Linked DNA regions of Homo sapiens: regions 1, 2, 3, 4 and 5 are each linked to region 6. Evidence: promoter capture Hi-C in 16 types of primary human blood cells and fetal thymus (Javierre and others, 2016). All regions are on one chromosome and are shown on one strand. The core of a region is centred on a gene start or on the middle of the fragment in contact, and the rest is flanking DNA. Distances in the headings are between cores, read along the strand shown. Region 1 holds the start of ZNF350 (zinc finger protein 350). Region 2 holds the start of ZNF175 (zinc finger protein 175). Region 3 holds the start of ZNF613 (zinc finger protein 613). Region 4 holds the start of ZNF615 (zinc finger protein 615). Region 5 holds the start of ZNF649 (zinc finger protein 649). Region 6 has its middle 17 kb from the start of ZNF331.

Region 1 (3,184 bases), core at 326-2,825, 1.5 Mb after region 6:
AATTTTTGTATTTTTAGTAGAGACTGGTTTCGCTTTGTTGGCCAGGCTGGTCTGGAACTCCTGACCTCAGATGATCCGCCTGCCTCGGCCTCCCAAAGTGCTGGGATTACAGGTGTGAGCCACCGTGCCCCACTTCACTTTCTTAAATGTTGTGTTTAGAAGCACAAACTTAAAAAAAAATCAAGTCCACTTTATTAATTTTATTTTGTTTTGTGGGTCATCCTTTACTCTCCTCTCAGAATTAACTCACGTCCATGAGGATTATCTCCCTTTTCCTTCTCTAAGTTTTATACTTTCTCTTAAACTTAGATCTATGATCTATTTTGAGTTAACTTTTGTGTATGGTTTGAGGGTCCTAACTCATTTTTCTGGATGTGGATATCCAATTATCCCAGTGCCGCTTGTTGAAAAGACTATTCTTATTGAATTGTCTTGGCACTTTTGTCAAAAACTCTTAACAATATTTTTATACTCTCAATTCTGGCTCTGCTCTTCCCATTGGCACCTTTACTAAAAGTGGCCTTTCTAGGAGGCCCAATTCCTTTAGTCTGTCGTGGCCAGGCTCACATCGTAATTCATTCTCAAAATCTCTTTTCTCTCCTCTCCTCTCCTCTTTTCTCTTCTTTTCTCCTCTTTTCTCTTCCTTCTCCTCCTCCTCTTCCTCCTTCTTCTTCTTCTTTTTTGTAAATAATAATCATTTTTTCGAGGCCAGGCGCGGTGGCTCACACCTGTAATCCCAGCACTTTGGGAGGCCGAGACAGGCAGATCACGAGGTCAGGAGGTCGAGATCATCTTGGCCAACATGGTGAAAGCCAGTCTCTACTAAAAATACAAAAATTAGCTGGGCGTGGTGGCGCGTGCCTGTAGTCCCAGCTACTTGGGAGGCTAAGGCAGGAGAATCGCTTGAACCAGGGAGGCAGAGGTTGCAGTGAGCCCAGATCTCGCCACTGCACTCCAGCCTGGCGACAGAGCAAGACTCCGTCTCAAAAAAAATTATAATTTTTTTCTTTCTTCACCACCCGCCCCCCCGAATACCTGCTATTTTTCTGTTCTTAAAAACCGCTTCCTGCAAGCTAATTTTCGCCAGACGCTTTCCCGTGGGTGTCTGCCTACCTGATGTGTTGCCTTTTCCCTTTCTACCTGATCTGTTACCTTTTCCATTTCCAATTCATTCTCTGGGATACCTACACCTGGCTGCACTGTTACTTGTCTTTTTCAAAACCTTTTTTTTTAAATTTAACAAAGTGGATGGAAAAGCGCTAAAGGCAATTTAGCTTGCCCCATATTTGCCTGATAAAGCCTGAGTCTCTGAAAATCTGCCCCCTTTCGCAAGACTTTAAGTGCCAGGAAACGAGGCGATTTCAGTGACTTCTCTTCTTCCCTGGCTCCTGGCTCAAAAACCTGCCACTGCCTTCTGTGCGTCCAATTTTCAAACATGGCTGCCGTCAGGAGCCACGGCTATGGGCGCGGCCATTTTACAGAGTAGGAAATGCCGTAAATGCGCTTGTCCTTGCTCTTTTAAACATTTTAGGTTCTCCTCGGCCGCCGTAGGTGGACCATAAACCCGTGCGAGGACTCCAGAAGTAGGAGCAGTTTACGGAAGTGTAACGTTGAGGCCCTTCTTGTGTATCTGGAGAAAATAGAGGTCAGTGTGTGGTTTTGTCCCTGAAAGTTTTTTGTCCTAGTTCAGGTTTTGTCTCAGTGGAAGGTTTGGGAGATCTGAGGACGTGGTGTACCCTGGACCACATAGTTTTTGGCAGGAAGACTGGGGAGCGCCGGGGTATAGGCATTTGGGAGGTACCTGGTGGGAGTCTGTGATCCCCCTGTCTGTGGTCCGCGTGCCTTTGGTGTGAGTACAGTGACTAAGGGTCTGTAGTGATCAACGGCCGTGTCCTAACTGTCAAGGTATGGATCACTCTGCTTGTAAAGGATGGAGGTGGCGATTAGGATCGATGCGGCGTCTGCTTCGGGTTCAGGATTTAATTTGGAACTCAGTGATGTTGGAGTCTGGGAGGATGTCCATCGCTGTAGAGTGTCTGGTCCGTGGTTCGGATGAGTAAGAGGCATGGGGCCAGTGTCTGTGGTACAAAGGCTTGTGAGGGCTGAAGCTTTCGAGACTTTGGAGCCCTGGGTCCTGGGTTGAGGTTCGAACCTCGGTTACTGGGGCAAAAGGCGACACAGCCCCCAGCATTAGTTCGAAACCATATATCTACTCTTCTGATCCTTGGGGTGGCTATTTACAGATCGGGGGGTCAAGTTCAGTCATACCCTCCGATTATATATTGTCTATGGCTGCAAAGGCAGCGGTTGAGTTGTTGTGACAGAGACCTCGTGGCCGGCAAAATCGAAAATGTTGCCAACCTCTGCATTCACTTCTTTTATTTTTTATTTATTTTTTTTATTTTTTGAGACGGAGTTTCACTTTTGTCTCCCAGACTGGAGTGCAATGGCGCGATCTCGGCTCACTGCAATCTCCGCCTCCCGGGTTCAAGCGATTCTCCTGCCTCAGCCTCCTGAGTAGCTGGGACTACAGGCCCACGCCACCACGCCCGGCTAGTTTTTGTATTTTTAGTAGAGACAGGGTTTTACCACGTTGGGCAGGTTGGTCTCGAACTCCTGACCTCAGGTGATCCGCCCACCTTGGCTTTCCAAAGTGCTGGGATTACAGGCGTGAGCCACCGCGCCCGGCCTTCACTTCTTAATATATAGTGAGTGTTGCTTGCCCGCCTTATATTCACACTTTCTTAACAGAATCTCCATTTCGTGAAGTATTCATCCCTGTGGCAAGGCGACCCAAATCCCAGTTTCTTAGTAAGGCCTTGTTGGTCTTAGCCAATCTTGCTGGTTCCAATTGCCATTGCTAGTGATAGGTTTGACATGGAAATGAGCTTAGGCGTATGGTGCAATTCTAGCCAACTATGTATGTGAAAATCTGCCTGGGAGTTTCTGAGGGAGCATTTTCTTTTTTAAATATGTAATTTCTTGAATCTCTTTTTCCATGTTCGTGATGATATCGCCTGAAAATAACATTAATTTTCTGTCTTACTTTGTAATGCTTATAATTCATTCTTATCTTAATGCATTGGCTCAACTTTCCAGTATAAAGTAGGAAAATAGGGTGTTAGTGGACGTTCTTGTTTTATTACCCACCTGTAAAATTCACCCGTTGTGTTGTCTGGAGTTA
Region 2 (2,722 bases), core at 3-2,502, 1.9 Mb after region 6:
TCTGTCTGGTGTACCTATTCTGAGCTTCTGGACTTTTCAGTCCCCGTCCATAATACACCACACACAGACCAGCCTCTTCTGACTAGAGCTAAAACTTAAAATCACTGTCCCAATCCCCATCTTGACACAGAAAATTTGCAGACATGCATCAGGGCCTCCAGTTACCATTTCTTGCCTGTCCACAATAAGTTGCCCCCACCGCACCTGAATGCAATCACTGACAGGACTGACTTTCAGAAATCCCCAATGAGTGTACTACAGGGCTGCCAGAAAGTTCCAAAATGCCTCCCAGTCACTGACATGGCACAGGCTTCTGAAATCTTTACTGCCCTGATAGCCAAGAAATGTTTCCCAGCGAGCACAATTTTCTGGTTTCCATAAAACGACAAATAATCCCCAACATAGGGGTCCAAATGAAATGCCCCAATAGGAAACCATCATCGATGTGCTCAACTGTCAATTACTGATCCTTACCATGTCCAAGGGACCCAAGAAGAGGCCAACACTGACCCACCCACCAATCCCTGAAGGACCCCAACACTCACTGCCTAGAAAGCAATGCATTCACCCTCACAAATCCCCATCATTGACCCCCTACGCCTCCAGTCAACTGGCTGCCATAGGCTACCCCTGGCAACCCCACTCTACTGATTCCTATAGGTTGCCCATCACTGGTCCCCTGAGAGTGTTACAGTGTGATCCTCAAAGTCCTCCAACCTCTGAAGCTCTTGGCTGCCAATCAATCACTGACTCCCCTAGTCCCACGGACAGTGAATCCCTTCCCTGAACGTCCTCCAGCACCATCCGCAAAGGCGCTCTTAAGATGCACGTTCACTGTCCTCAAGTTAGCAAGTTTCGTGGACCAATATAAAATCCGATATTAAAGTACACTTGGAATTTAAGTCACAAAAATACTACAAGCAGAAAATAAGCAAGAAAAGAGGGAAAATTAACAGGCTAATTATCCAACTAAAATTAGCAAACGCCACTTACCCCACAGCACCCATCACCCACCCCAGAAACCCCTCATCGCTCAGCCAAAACAAGCCCGTCACTCACCTCACAGCCTCGTCTTCAGCCGAGAAATCCCTTTATCACGCACCCCCACCCCCAACAAGCCCCTCATCACTCCCCCAAAGCCAGCCGCCCCTTCCTGACCCTACAGAACCCCCACTGCTAATATTCCCAATCACTTCAGCGTCCAGTAAGCGACATAGGCTTAGATCCACTTAACAACAGAAGCTAAATGGTCGCTCTAGGCCACTTCCGGTTTGGGTTACATTCCCGTTAGGATTTCCGTAGGCGCTGTTGAACCGCGCGCATGCCCACTAACACTTTTGAAGCTACGCTCCGCCAACAGTTATCATGGCGTATAACGGCGTACCTTTATTCCGCGGTTCATTCAACTTCAGAAACTTGGTAGGGAGGACGGCATGGCCGCACCCATACGGATTATGATATTGGAGGCCGCCATCGTCAAAGGGCTTTTATTCCGTACAGCCAAGGACAAATGGAATGTCACAGAGTAAAAGTCTTGGGTCCTACATTGGCAGGGGACCTATTCAATACTTGTGTATATATATTTCTAGGAGAAACTGACATGTATTCTGAAAAATACTTTTTCTCTATATTTTTCCCTCTGATTTAAAGACTTTTTTTTCCTGAATTGCTGAACAACTCACTGTCTTTAATAGCACTTTTGAAAATGTTATCTTTCTGAGAAATTGTATCTTTGTTATCCTTACACCATTGCTCTCTATACCTGGATGAACCTATTGATGAAGTAACCTACCAAGCGACCACCTGAAGAGAGAATTTAGGGCTCTTGGGACACTTCATTTAAAGAGAGGCGAATGAAAAAAATATAATCAAGTTAAAGGAAAAAAACACAATTACTGAGATCAATGTCAGCCAGCCCAACTGGGCAGAATTTTCAGGAAGAGGTTGTTCAATCAAATAAACAAAAATATATTCTAGAAGGTGAGTAATAGCAATCATAAAATTAAAAAAATGGCTGATTATGGGAAATAGGAGGCAGGGCTGAGTGAGGATCTGAAGGTGAAGATCTGAAATGATCCTTCTTTTTTAAAAAATAGTAATTTAAATATATTGCTTTCGTAGTTTGTGCCATTTTGTAGTTACCGATTTTACATTCTGTGTTCACAGCTTCTGCCACCCCATCTCTGCACTTAAAGCCACCATATTACTTTTAATTACTTCATACCTCATTTTTAGTCCATTTGAATAATAAAATAAGACTGCTTAGCCAATGAAGCATTTTTTTGAACATGGTTTCCCAGGAATAGTTGAGTTTTCACATTAGTATCTGAACCTAACTTTGTTACATGAAGCATGAAACCTGCTTTTATTTTAAAACATCAATTATATATTTACTGTAAGCAAATAGTGTAAAATCAATAAAAACACTTATCTTTATTATGTGAGAAAGTGTGACATTTTGTTTGAGTTACTAAGAAATTCCCCGGACTTAGAACTTTTGAATTTTCTCCACTTATAAATCTGAGACTATTCTTTACTGTGTCATAGGATTTACCCTACGGCTTTGGTACATTTTATTTAAAAAAAGGAAAATGCAGAGAGTGAAAATTGAGATAGAAGTAGGAGGCTTTAAGTACAACAGCCCCGCATGTGTATGTTCAGGGCAAGTTAAGGCGTCCCTCCACTGGGACATCTGTATATCTGTAGGATGAGGGGTAACTGC
Region 3 (2,892 bases), core at 8-2,507, 1.6 Mb after region 6:
CGTGTGTTACCACACCCAGTTAATATTTGTATTTTTTGGAGAGACAGGCTATGTTGTTCAGGCTGATCTCCAACTTCTAGGCTCGAGCAATTCGCCCACTTTGGCCTCCCAAATGCTGGGAATATAGGCGTGAGCCACCGCGCCAGGCCACCTTACCATTTTAGATTTGATTAATCTTTGATCTTCCCCAAAGCTTTCCTATTTACCAGGATGAGAGAAAGGAGAGATGTGAGAAGTCAAATGAGATTTGTAAACCAGTCCTTGCAGAGAAACTTAAAAGGGACTGAGAGGGAATGTACCGTTGGACCTGAACACACACACCAATCAGGATGCCCTGGCTGCCAAGGCTTCAGCCTTCACAAGCTTCTCCACGACTGTCACATCTAGACCTCCCTAACATGGTCACACCCCCTTAGATTAATCCAAAAACCTGGACCACACACCTAGGTTCACATGAACCCGGGCTCCTCCTCACTGAGTCGCATATTAAATCCTGATTACAGCCTGGAGCGAAGGCTCACGCCCGTAATCCCAGCACTTTGGGAGGCCAAGGTGAGAGGATCGTTTGAGGCCAGGAGTTGGAGACCAGCCTGGGCAACATAGTGAGACCCCCGTCTCTGCAATAAACAGATAGATTAGATAGATAAATTAGATAGATAGATAGATAGATAGATAGATTAGATTAGACAGATTAGATAGATAGATAGATAGATAGATAGCGTGGTGGCGCTCACCTGTAGTCCCAGCTACTCGGGAAAGCTGAGGTGGGAAAATCACCTGAGCCCCGGGAGATGGAGGCTGCAGTGAGCCACGATTGCGCCACTGCACTCAAGCCTGTGTGACAGAGCGAGACCCTGTCTCAAAAATAAAAAATAAAACCCCGAATCCGAAGCAGACACAGTTTTCCTTGACAAAAACCACTCCTCACTCCAGTCCTCAATCACCGAGCCCTACAGAGTGACCCGCAAAGGCACCAAACCCTGATCACGGACTTCCAAGTGTTGCTCTGGACAGACTCTGACCACCGACCACTGGGATCCCTCAGGGCTGACTCCGGAGACGCCCCAACCCCAATACCCCGACTCCCACTTGCTCCCGCTTCCCCCACAAACTCCACGGCTCCGCACTAAACGGACGCCCACAGACACCCTCCTCCCCTCATCCTGACAGACAGACCCACACACAGACCTGATTTTGCGGGGAACCCACCGAGACTTCCCAGAACCTGCACTTTCCTGAATTATTCCACTTCTGGGCCCTCCCCCAGCCTCCAAGCCGGCCTACGGCGGCCGAGGAAGGTCTGAAGTTGCAGGTGTACGGAGCACGGACGACTGGGAGGTAGTAAGTTCGCGTCCTCTCGTCACGGATACTGGAGGCAGCCATCTTTGAATCCTGCACGTACGGAAGGTAAAGTGGACCTTTTCTGCCCAAGTATTCAGGGATAGCGCGGGACGGTGAAGAACTCCATATTTTGGCACCTAAATCCTGCGCCCAAGTTTCATTTATTTTCAGAGGGTCGAGCTTAGCCAAGACAAACATGGTATGGCTACGTGCACCTTAGCGGGCTGGGGAGAAAAGTCATCCGCTTTGCACAAAGAATGACGGGAATGACACAATGGGCGCGGCCATCTTAACACTTAGGTGTCCGTACAAGTGAAAACGCTTTCTCCACAGAGGAAAAAGAGCAATCGCACCCTGAGTCATATACCGCGAAAACGCATCTAGCTACATGTGGAGGACAAGAGGAAGATTTTTGAGGACCAAAAGGGTGTGGAGAGGCAATCGAGGTACGAGGATATTGTTCACCCCGTCAACGGAAAGTGAAAAAACAGCGACCCCTGGAACCTCATTTACATTTGAGGGACACGGTCACCGCCCAGTGCAGGTAAAGAGAGCAGCCACCAGCCAACCGGAAAAGGAATCCAATGCGGGAGGCGGGAATTTTCCTTAAGAGAGAAGAAGGGCCTTCCCTCTGCTGTAGGTGGAGTCAATCTTAACGTCGGGGCTTTCGGAGAACCAAGTGCCTAAAATTCTGGAAGGAATAAATAAGGCGACTCTGGGAGAATGAAAAGTTGTGCAAGCCCGGGCGCGATGGCGCACACGTGTAGTCCCAGCTACTGGGGAGACCAAGGCAGGAAGATCGCTTGAGCCCAGGAGTTCCAGGCTGCAGTGAGCTATGATCGCACCTATCAATAGCCACTGCACTACACAGCCTTGGCAACCCCTTCATGAGGAAAAAAAGAAAAAAGAAAAAAAAAAGTTGTGCAAGAAAAGTAATCATAGGATACTACCTGACTGACCTATAAATATTATTTACATAGTCATCATAACGTAAATTCTAATTCTGATCCAACCTAAATTAAGACAATTCCATTGGAAGAATGAGAAGGAAATTCCTGCATGCAGTGGAGTGTTTATATTTATAACAGAGTTTTCACGTGTCCTTCATGATACATCTATAGAAAATGCCCCAAAATGCAAACTCCATTTCAGAAACATACCGTGTTACTTAAAATATCAAATCTGTGAAGAGTGAAAAGCTTTACAGAACTATATGACTCCTTAGGAGAATTGCAAAATAAAAGCAAGAATCTTATGACTCAGGAATTCCACTCCTAGATACTTATACAACAGTAATGAAATGATATGTCCTCACAAAGACTCACAAGAATGTTCTTAGCACCTTTATGCATAATACCCTGAACAGGAAACAGTCCAAGTGTCCATCAGTACATGAATGTATAAGCAAATTGCAGTGTAATCATACCCTGGAATACTACTGAACAATAATAAAAAACAAATCATAGATGCATGCACCAACATAGATAAATCTCAACAACCTTATGAAGGGGGCCAGCCTCTCCACACCTGTGGGTATTTCTCATCTGGTGG
Region 4 (2,758 bases), core at 34-2,533, 1.5 Mb after region 6:
CAAAAAAAAAACAAAAAAAAAGAAAAACTCTCATATACCAAGGGTGAGAAGAGCAAATGGAACACGAACTTGACTCTGAAAAATAGTTTGACAATTTCTCTGTATATTTATATACTGATACCTATATCACACACATAGATTCACACAGGCATTTCCTTTCTCTCATTCTTCTAATATAGGAAGTTTGGTTGGATTTATATTTACAGTTCAGCATTGCCATGACTTTGCACATACTATTCGCGGTTGGCACACGTAGTATAACGTGATCTCCTTCTTAACCTTTCTTTCTTTTGTTTTTTTTTTGAGATGGAGTTTTGCTCCTGTTGCCCAGGCTGGAGTGCAATGACGCCATCTTGGCCCACAGCAACCTCCGCCTCCCGGGTTCAAGCGATTCTCCTGCCTCAGCCTCCCGAGTAGCTGGGATTACAGGCATGCGCCACCATGCCTGGCTAATTTTGTATTTTTAGTAGAGACAGGGTTTCTCCATGTTGGTCAGGCTGGTCTCGAACTCCCGCTCTCAGGTGATCCGCCCACCTCGGCCTCCCAAAGTGCTGGGATTACAGGCGTGAGCCACCGCGCCCGGCCTCTTTCCCAACCTTTTTTTTCTCACTGAAGTGGTCCTGTTCCCTTAATTTCTGGCCACTTCTCCTGAGTCCAGCCCTCATATTTGGCTCCACCTGGGTCCCAGGCTCTCCCCTCCGCCTTGGGAACTATACTTTCTGGCTTTTACTGGCTTTTCCCCATGCCTTTCACCCAACATAATTTTGGCACGTTCCAACCGTTTTCATTACCTAGTCTGTGACTGCTACCCCTGTTCCGTCAGCGTAGCTAACAGCCCTCTTCTGCGTTCAAAAGGCGCTTCAAGCTACTTTGTTAGAAATCTGGCTTTGGCCGAAGTGTCCCCTCTCGGCCGGTTCTCCTTTTCCCTCACAAGGAACTGTTTCCTAACCTTTGTACAAAGTGTAAACGTCGCGGCCATCTTAGCCTTCTATTCAGCTGCTGAAAGGGATTTACCTCCACGCCATTTTTGTCTTGTGTAAACTGGAGCCTCTGTATATGGACCCGTATTTATGAAGGGTTGAGGTGCCAGGAAATGGGACAGTTTCAGTGCTCTTTCATCTTCCCGGCCATCCCCGGTCACCCCCGGTCACCCCCGGTCACCAGCGCCAAAACGCGCCCTTTGCCTTGTGTACGTCAGATACTCAAAGATGGCGGCCCCCATGGAGCCAAGGCGACGAGGGCGCGGCCATCTTGCATCTGCGCAAACGCTGGGAACGCCTCCGACCCTGGATAGTCGCCGTCAGGCACTGAGGAGGCCGAGAGATGAGGCCGGAGCCCACCAAGTTCTGGGAAGTAAGTTCAGTCACTGGGTGGTCGCTGTGGTGACGGGGGAGGAAATTCTGTCCGTGGCTGGGCGTGTTCGTGGACAGTGGTGATGGACTGGTATCTGTCGGCGCCAGCGTTTGGCGACGCCAGTGGAATTCTTTCAGGAGCTTAGCGTGGGTCCGATTCCTATCGCAGGGGAACTACAAGAGGTCCGTGATAGGGTGTGTGTGTGTGTGATCGGGGTACCTCTGGGACCAGTCACAGGGTCCTCGTGTAGTTTGTGGTTAAAGATCTCTAGAGATCCGCTACTGAGTGCCCAAGTCACATTCTGGTGTCTTTGGTGTTGTCCTTTGGCGGGGCTCAGTGATTGCGAACTGGAGGGTTTGTTTTGTCAGCGAATCGGTTTATGGTTCAGGTTTTGTTTGGGACTAAATGATTGAGGAACTGTCTTGGGGGTTAAGGTACGGAGGTTTCTGATCCAGGTTTTGGAATTAATCCCGGTGGCGGTGGTGGTAGCGCCACAGATTCCGATGTGGGCTGCAGCTCTGGAGGCCTGGGAACCATGGCAGGTGATGGGTTAGCCCCAGCCCTGGCTGCTGGAACAGAATTGATGCTCATTAGCATTCCCCTTCTGCCCAAGACCCTTCTCCACGACTGGTTTTTAAATCCCCTTTGGCACCTTCCATCACCCCTTGGTCTTGAATCCTCAGAAATGGAAGTTTTTGGCGAGATCAGTCATCTAGCATACCTAAAAGTAGTATGTTTTATATTTAAGATGCGGCTTCTACCCTTTGTCCTGCAAGTTTCCAGCGTATCCTCTTGGATATTTCTTTTCAGGTTCTTTCTGACACAAGTAAGATAACATCTCTGCCATGGTAAGCTCGGTTACTCAAAGATAACCTTTGTCAAATTTTCAGAATATTTCAATTTTAGACGTGTATGTTATGTGCTTAATATTCATAATTCAGATAAATTATGTAAATGGTACTATTATCTTTTTCGCTTTATATTATGTAATAAACATTTAGAAGTTGTTTTTACTGTTTGAGCCGGTGGTACTATAAGTGCATTCACATTAAGTTTATGCGTACATTTGGATAGAAGTGAAATGTTTTAAAATGTTTAGGTATTATTTTTAGGAACATTTTATGATTATCCATTTATCCATGAATTTTGTTTTTCCTGCCTTTAATCTTCAATCTAGACTATTACTTTTATTGCAGTGTATTGCTTTCTGACTCCCCTTTCCTTATAATCTATAACAAAAGATAAATTAATTTTAAATATTTATTTTATATTTGGTCATCTTAATTCTTAGTATTACAATATTTTTCTCTCTGCCTAACATATTATTTTGTGAAAATTTTTGAACCTATGGAAATATTGAAAGAAGTTTAATGTTAATACCAATATGCCTACCACCTAGCTTTTA
Region 5 (2,872 bases), core at 83-2,582, 1.6 Mb after region 6:
TTGATATGCACATACATAAACGTCTCGGTGCATTAAAGAGCAGTATTGCCGCCAGCTTGTCTCACCTCCAGCCCTAAGGCGATTTTCTCCTATCTCAGTAGATGGAACATACAATCGGGTTTTATACCGAGACATTCCATTGCCCAGGGACGAGCAGGAGACAGATGCCTTCCTCTTGTCTCAACTGCAAGAGGCCTTCCTTCCTCTTATACTAATCCTCCTCAGCACAGACCCTTTACGGGTGTCGGGCTGAGGGATGGTCAGGTCTTTCCCTTCCCACGAGGCCATATTTCAGACTATCACATGGGGAGAAACCTTGGATAATACCTGGCTTTCTGGGGCAGAGGTCCCTGTGGCCTTCCGCAGTGTATTGTGTCCCTGGGTACTTGAGATTAGAGAGTGGTGATGACTTTTAACAAGCATACTGCCTTCAAGCATTTGTTTAACAAAGCACATCCTGCATAGCCCTAAATCCATTAAACCTTGAGTCAACACAGCACACGTCTCTGTGAGAACAGGGTTGGGGGTAGGGTTACAGATTAACAGCATCTCAAGGCAGAAGAATTTTTCTTAGTACGGAACAAAATGGAGTCTCTTATGTCTACTTCTTTCTACATAGACACAGTAACAGTCTGATCTCTCTTTCTTTTCCCCACAGTGCACTGTTGTTAGTGCTCCAACCTCACAGTGCAGGGGTTGAGGTGTCAGGAGAGGGAACACATCAGTGCCATTTCACTGTCTCCTGTGTCAAAGCAAAATTAAAATGCAGACCAGAATTCAAAAACTCCTGAGCAAACAAAACCCAGTAGGCCTTAAAAACAGCCTTAACCTTGCTTAACCTGCAAACATAAGCAACAATTCACTTGAGTCATTTCTGGTAAATGCTTGTGTTAGGGAAGGACAAAACTCAATCTCAACCGATCAAAAGTAGGCAACTCACATGCTATTATGTCATTAGGGACTTTCCAAGGCAAATTTAAAAAAATGCATTTTTATAATTGTAACTAATCAAATAATTTCTTTGTTTTACTCCTTCACTCACCCTGTGAATACTTGTGTCTAATGCTTTAAGCATAGAAGCGCGAGACTTCTTTTGGTTTGATGCTTCCTAATTCATGAATTGCTGTTTGTTCAGATAAACTCTAGAAAATGCTCCTGCGCCTCAAATTTTTGCTTTCAGGAGAGTCATCCCGGTTTAATGACACAAGAACAACTGTTTCCCTTCTGTACGGCAGATCTACCAAGATGGCCGCGCCCAGAGAGCCGTGGCTCAGGGCGCGGACATGTTACCTCCTCGAAGAGAAGCCCATGTCCCATCGTCCTAGCGCGGCAGAATTGACTCGCGCCCTCGTCCGCCGCCATAGGCCAGTGCCGGGGTTTAAGGGCCAGGAAAGGAAGCATTCAGGGAATTTAGGTGTAGCCAGAAGAAAATCAGGTGAGTGTTTGGGTCTCTCCGTGGAGTAGGTTAAAGGGGTAGGGAGCTTCTGAGGAGCCTGTGGGGAGAGCTGGCGGCCTGGGCGGTGGAGCCTTTGGGTTGGGGTGCCTTTGCGGTCCGGCGTGGGAGAGTTCTTGTGGTCGGGCGTTAAAGGTCTGTCGAGTTCAGCGACTGAGACTCGGCGTCAGAGTTTGGGGTCTCTGAGGGTCACTCTGTTAGTAGGCCTCTGGATCACTGGATGGAGAACTCTAGGGGGACGCTGCCCAGCACGCCGGCTTTATCACCGACGCCATTATTATCACTCCAAATGCTGCAGTTTAAAGTCGGTGATGAAGCCGGGGTGCTGGGCAGCGTACGAGGGTGTGTGGTGTAGGTTTTGGGGTGAATCGGGGATGTGTGTTAAGTGTTTCGGGGAGGCCCAGGCATGTGGGGCTCAGAGGCTTGTAAAATCTGGTATTTTACAAGCCCAGGCCCCTGGCTGGGGTTGAGTTGTGAAACTATAACCGCCCACCCTTGCCGGCTGCCTAGACAGAGCCGACTTGTTAAGACAGGGAAATTGCAATGGAGAAAGAGCAATTCATGCAGAGCCGGCTGTGCGGGGAGACCGGAGTTTTATTATTACTCAAATCAGTGATAAAAGAAAAATTGAAGCCGAATTAAATTTACAGGAGTTTCCTTGAGCAATGAACGATTCGCGAATTGGGCAGCCCCCAGAATCACAGCAGATTAACAGAGACTCCAGGGGTGCCTCGTGGTCAGAACAAATTTATAGACAAAAAAGGTAAAGTGACATACAGGAATCGGAAGCGAGGTCCAGAAACAGTGAGATTGGTTACCATTCGGCGTTTGCCTTATTTGAACGCAGTTGGAACATTCAGCAGTCTATGAGTATGGCCGCTGGGACTGGCCACCACTCAGCTATTGTTACAGGTGCATACGATTAAGTTCGGTTTTCAATTTTGTCTGTTAAGCTAGGTTGCAGTTTATCCACAAGGACTCAAATATAGAAGTATGGAGTCGTTCTCAGGCAATATTTAGTTTGCTTAAGCATCAGTCTCCTTGAGCATTTGGGGATCAAAGTTTCCTCCTATCCCCCAGACGGAATCTAGCTCTGTTGTCCAGTCTGGAGTGCAGTGGTGCGATCTCAGCTCACTGCAACCTCCGCCTCCTGGGTTCTAGCGACTGTCCTGCCTCAGCCTCCCGAGTGGCTGGGATTACAGGCGCCCGCCACCACGCCCGGCTAATTTTTGTATTTTTAGTAGAGACAGGCTTTCACCACGTTGGCCAGGCTGGTCTTGAACTCCTGACCTCAGGTGATCTGCCCGCCTCGGCCTTCCAAAGTGCTGGGATTATAGGCATGAGCCATCGCGCCTAGCTATGATTGTTACGATTTATAAGAAATGTATAATCGATCTTTGTCCTGTTTCCTGGCACATG
Region 6 (2,921 bases), core at 60-2,559:
CATGGTGAAATCCCGTCTCTACTAAAAATACAAAAATTAGCTGGGCATGGTGGCGTGCGCCTGTGGTCCCAGCTACTTGGGAGGCTGAGGCAGGAGAATCGCTTGAACCTGGGAACCGAGATCGCACCACTGCACTCCAGCCCTGGGCGACAGAGCAAGACTCTGTCTCAAAAAAAAAAAAAACAAAGAAAGAAAATAGGGCACACTTGTCCCCAGACCACAGTTAAAATCAATCAGAAATAAGAGGGCACAGGCATGTGAGTTTTTCAGAGAAATGCTGGAAAACTCTAGGAACTGGGGTTCTGAAACATGGAGCTGCCCCTCTCACCACCTCCCCGCCTCCCATGTCAGGTACCTCTTTCTTCCCCAAAAGGAATTCTATTCTTGAGGTTACTTCCTCTTGTCGTCCAGGTAGTGTGCACGGAGAGCACTTCTGGCTCCAAAACTGCCATCTCGTGACTTGTGAAGCCTTCTTCTTGGTCATTTTCACAATAGCGTAGAGCCTCTCACGTCACTTTGGGACCACTGCTCCCTAGCAGGTACCACATGGCTGGAAGGCCAAGGCACAGGAAGCAACGGAGACACTAGAAAGACAGGTGACATGGTCGCACACACCTGTGCTCACTCAAAAGGCCATGCACCCAGGCCCGATCCCGACCAGTCACAGCCGCACACTCGCTGGCCCTTTCACACCCACAGACGCTCACACCAGAGGGACACTGCCTGTCCCTGTCAACCTGACAGAAGTGCAAAGGCACATTTCAGAGACACGGAGACCCGTCCTGGCCGTGCCACCTCTGCAGACCCCACCAGCATTGACCTCGCACAGAACGGAGGTGCAGAGACACAGCCCGGCTGCGTCACCCCTACAGATGCCCTTACAGCCCGGCGCTATGGCCCTCATAGACGTCTACACACACCTGTGTCACAGTTTATGGGGACAGAGCCCGGCCGCGTCAACCCCGCATGCATCACGGCTTAGGGGAACGGGGCTTGTTCGCATTACCCCACAGACGAAGACAATTATCTCAGTCACTGGGCCACGGCGGGGCCCCACCAGGCAGCCTCTGGCTTATTCACACACACACACACACACACACACACACACTCACACACACTCCCACTTCCCTGCTCGCCGCTCCCGAAGCCTCAGGCCGAAGCTTCTTCATTTTAGGGCCTCCGCGTCCCGAGTGGCTCCCTCACCGCCATTCCCCGCGGAACCCTGCCCTGGCTTCCTCCTGGGAGGCAAATAGCTCCCGGCTCGAGGCCTAACCACACCCAGCACATCAGGAGGTGAAACAAGGTCTCAGGCGCAGTTGGGATAAGATCCAGGAGAAACCATTTTTAAAAATCCCGCGAGCATGAAGCACGCCCCTCAGCCGGCCACCCGGCTCGCTCCTCATTGGACTGTGCCCCAAGGCCCTCTGGGAAATGTAATGCGAAACCAGAGAAGCTTCGACGCAGCTGGAAGGGCGCCCGTCAGTGTTTCCCAGCATGCAACTCTACACGGCGCAAATGGAGCCGTGACCCAGAGGCCTCTGGGAAATGTAGTCCATAACCCGGAAATCCACAGAGTTGGAAGCGGCTGTCAGGATTTCCCAGCATGCAACTCTACGCGACCCTAAGGGCGTCCTGCCTTGAGGGCTTCTGGGAAATGTAGCTCATAACCCGGGAATCGACGTATCTGGAAGGGCGCCCATCAGTGTTTCCCTGCAGGCAACTGCACACGGCCCTAATGGAGCCATGCCCCAGAGACCTCTGGGAAATGCTCACTACGCGGGAATCCTTAGCGCTGGAAGCGCGGCCGTCAGAATGCTTTTCGTCGGTGTCTCCTCCCACTGTTAGAGCAGCTGCACCCCCCATAGACTTCTGGGAAAGCGTATTTCAGACTGGCAGAATCTTCAAATGCTGGAAGCCCTGTCGGCCTTCTCCTGCCCTGAAACTTTGCTTGCTCCTAAGGCGCACCACAAAAAATTCCTGGGAAAAGTGGTTCAGGCTCTAGGGGCCTACAGTTATAATTGCTTACAACTTGCATTTGGGATCCGTCCATAGGGAAGGCGTGTCCCCGCGTCCTTCTGGGAAGGAAATGTAGTCTGAAACGACCAGAAATCACGCCTGTAATCTCAGCACTTTGGGAGGCCGAGGCGGGTATATCACCTGAGATCAGGAGTTCGAGACCCTCCTGCCCAACATGGTGAAACCCCATCGCTCTAAAAATGCAAAAATTAGCCAGGCGTGGTGGTGTGTGCCTGTAATCCCAGCTACTTGGGAGGCTGAGGGAAGAGAATCGCTTGAACCCAGGAGGCAGAGGTTGCAGTGAGCCGAGATCACACCACTGCACTCCAGCCTGGGCGATAAGAGTGAAACAATGTCTCAAAATAATAATAATAATAATAATAAGCCCGGAAAGCTTAAAAGCTGTGATTTGGGAAAAGTTCAAAAATTTCCCAGCATGCAACATGGCCCTCCTTAGAAAAGAGCTGTGCCTCCAGAGCGTTCTTGGAAATACAGCCCCGAGCTGGAAATGCCTCTAGAAAGTGTTAGGTAGGGTGTTTACATGTGAGATTTTGGGGACGTTTCAGCACTGCCCTTTCCCCCACCCCCCAGTAGATTGGGGAGCTCCAGGCATGTGTGTAGGGACCTTGAGTAGGTTCCACGGGAGTGACCTGGTCCTGACTGGGTCTGTGCCAAGGCTCTCTCTGTAAGGGCAGGACTTTGCGTTTCGTTCTCTGATGCTGTCCCAGACTTGGGAGCACTGCCTGGCTCTTCAGATGTCTCTGTGAGTGTTACCTTGGTATGGGCGGGAGAGGCCTGGGCTGTATGGCTTGCTGCCCGGCAGGATATTGACAAGATGTTCTTATGATCAGGCGGTTTGGCCCTTTTTCCGGTGGGATCTCATCAGGATGTTCCTTGGACCTTTG

What was found. Contacts are between HindIII fragments. The CHiCAGO score rates a contact against its expected background, and 5 or more counts as called.
Region 1: a contact is called between the fragment with the promoter of ZNF350 here and a fragment that was not itself captured in region 6, in 5 of 17 cell types (non-activated CD4 T cells, activated CD4 T cells, total B cells and 2 more). The highest score is 11.2, in non-activated CD4 T cells.
Region 2: a contact is called between the fragment with the promoter of ZNF175 here and a fragment that was not itself captured in region 6, in 3 of 17 cell types (activated CD4 T cells, fetal thymus and non-activated CD4 T cells). The highest score is 8.1, in activated CD4 T cells.
Region 3: a contact is called between the fragment with the promoter of ZNF613 here and a fragment that was not itself captured in region 6, in 8 of 17 cell types (total CD8 T cells, activated CD4 T cells, non-activated CD4 T cells and 5 more). The highest score is 8.6, in total CD8 T cells.
Region 4: the fragment with the promoter of ZNF615 here is called in contact with a fragment that was not itself captured in region 6 in 1 of 17 cell types (non-activated CD4 T cells); the score reaches 7.3 in non-activated CD4 T cells.
Region 5: a contact is called between the fragment with the promoter of ZNF649 here and a fragment that was not itself captured in region 6, in 7 of 17 cell types (non-activated CD4 T cells, activated CD4 T cells, naive CD4 T cells and 4 more). The highest score is 16.5, in non-activated CD4 T cells.

What each region holds. Positions count from the first base shown.
Region 1 is chr19:51,985,231-51,988,414 of GRCh38, reverse strand. ZNF350 (zinc finger protein 350) reads left to right here and starts at 1,575. Exons shown (of 5, transcript NM_021632.4): 1 at 1,575-1,645. RefSeq lists enhancers at 1,409-1,648, 1,235-2,110. The HindIII fragment of the contact is 6,623 bases long and covers 1-2,110 here.
Region 2 is chr19:51,569,813-51,572,534 of GRCh38, reverse strand. ZNF175 (zinc finger protein 175) reads right to left here and starts at 1,252. Exons shown (of 5, transcript NM_007147.4): 1 at 1,060-1,252. RefSeq lists an enhancer at 1,531-1,590. The HindIII fragment of the contact is 9,759 bases long and covers 1-2,722 here.
Region 3 is chr19:51,925,837-51,928,728 of GRCh38, reverse strand. It overlaps ZNF613 (zinc finger protein 613), which reads right to left and starts at 1,257. Exons shown (of 6, transcript NM_001031721.4): 1 at 1,189-1,257. RefSeq lists enhancers at 1,319-1,618, 1,474-2,237. The HindIII fragment of the contact is 2,177 bases long and covers 366-2,542 here.
Region 4 is chr19:52,006,736-52,009,493 of GRCh38, reverse strand. It overlaps ZNF615 (zinc finger protein 615), which reads left to right and starts at 1,283. Exons shown (of 7, transcript NM_001199324.2): 1 at 1,283-1,353; 2 at 2,164-2,201. LOC124904755 (a long non-coding RNA gene) reads right to left here and starts at 1,196. Exons shown (of 2, transcript XR_007067321.1): 1 at 1,015-1,196. RefSeq lists enhancers at 773-852, 913-1,522. The HindIII fragment of the contact is 6,775 bases long and covers 1-2,758 here.
Region 5 is chr19:51,903,477-51,906,348 of GRCh38, reverse strand. ZNF649 (zinc finger protein 649) reads left to right here and starts at 1,332. Exons shown (of 5, transcript NM_023074.4): 1 at 1,332-1,435. RefSeq lists enhancers at 66-690, 1,181-1,300, 1,019-1,563, 2,654-2,872. The HindIII fragment of the contact is 3,228 bases long and covers 1-2,872 here.
Region 6 is chr19:53,519,519-53,522,439 of GRCh38, reverse strand. It overlaps a transcript of ZNF331 not described here. Among named protein-coding and RNA genes, the nearest start is that of ZNF331, 17 kb to the left of the region's middle. RefSeq lists enhancers at 394-1,167, 1,478-1,677, 1,168-1,941, 1,942-2,716. The HindIII fragment of the contact is 293 bases long and covers 1,163-1,455 here.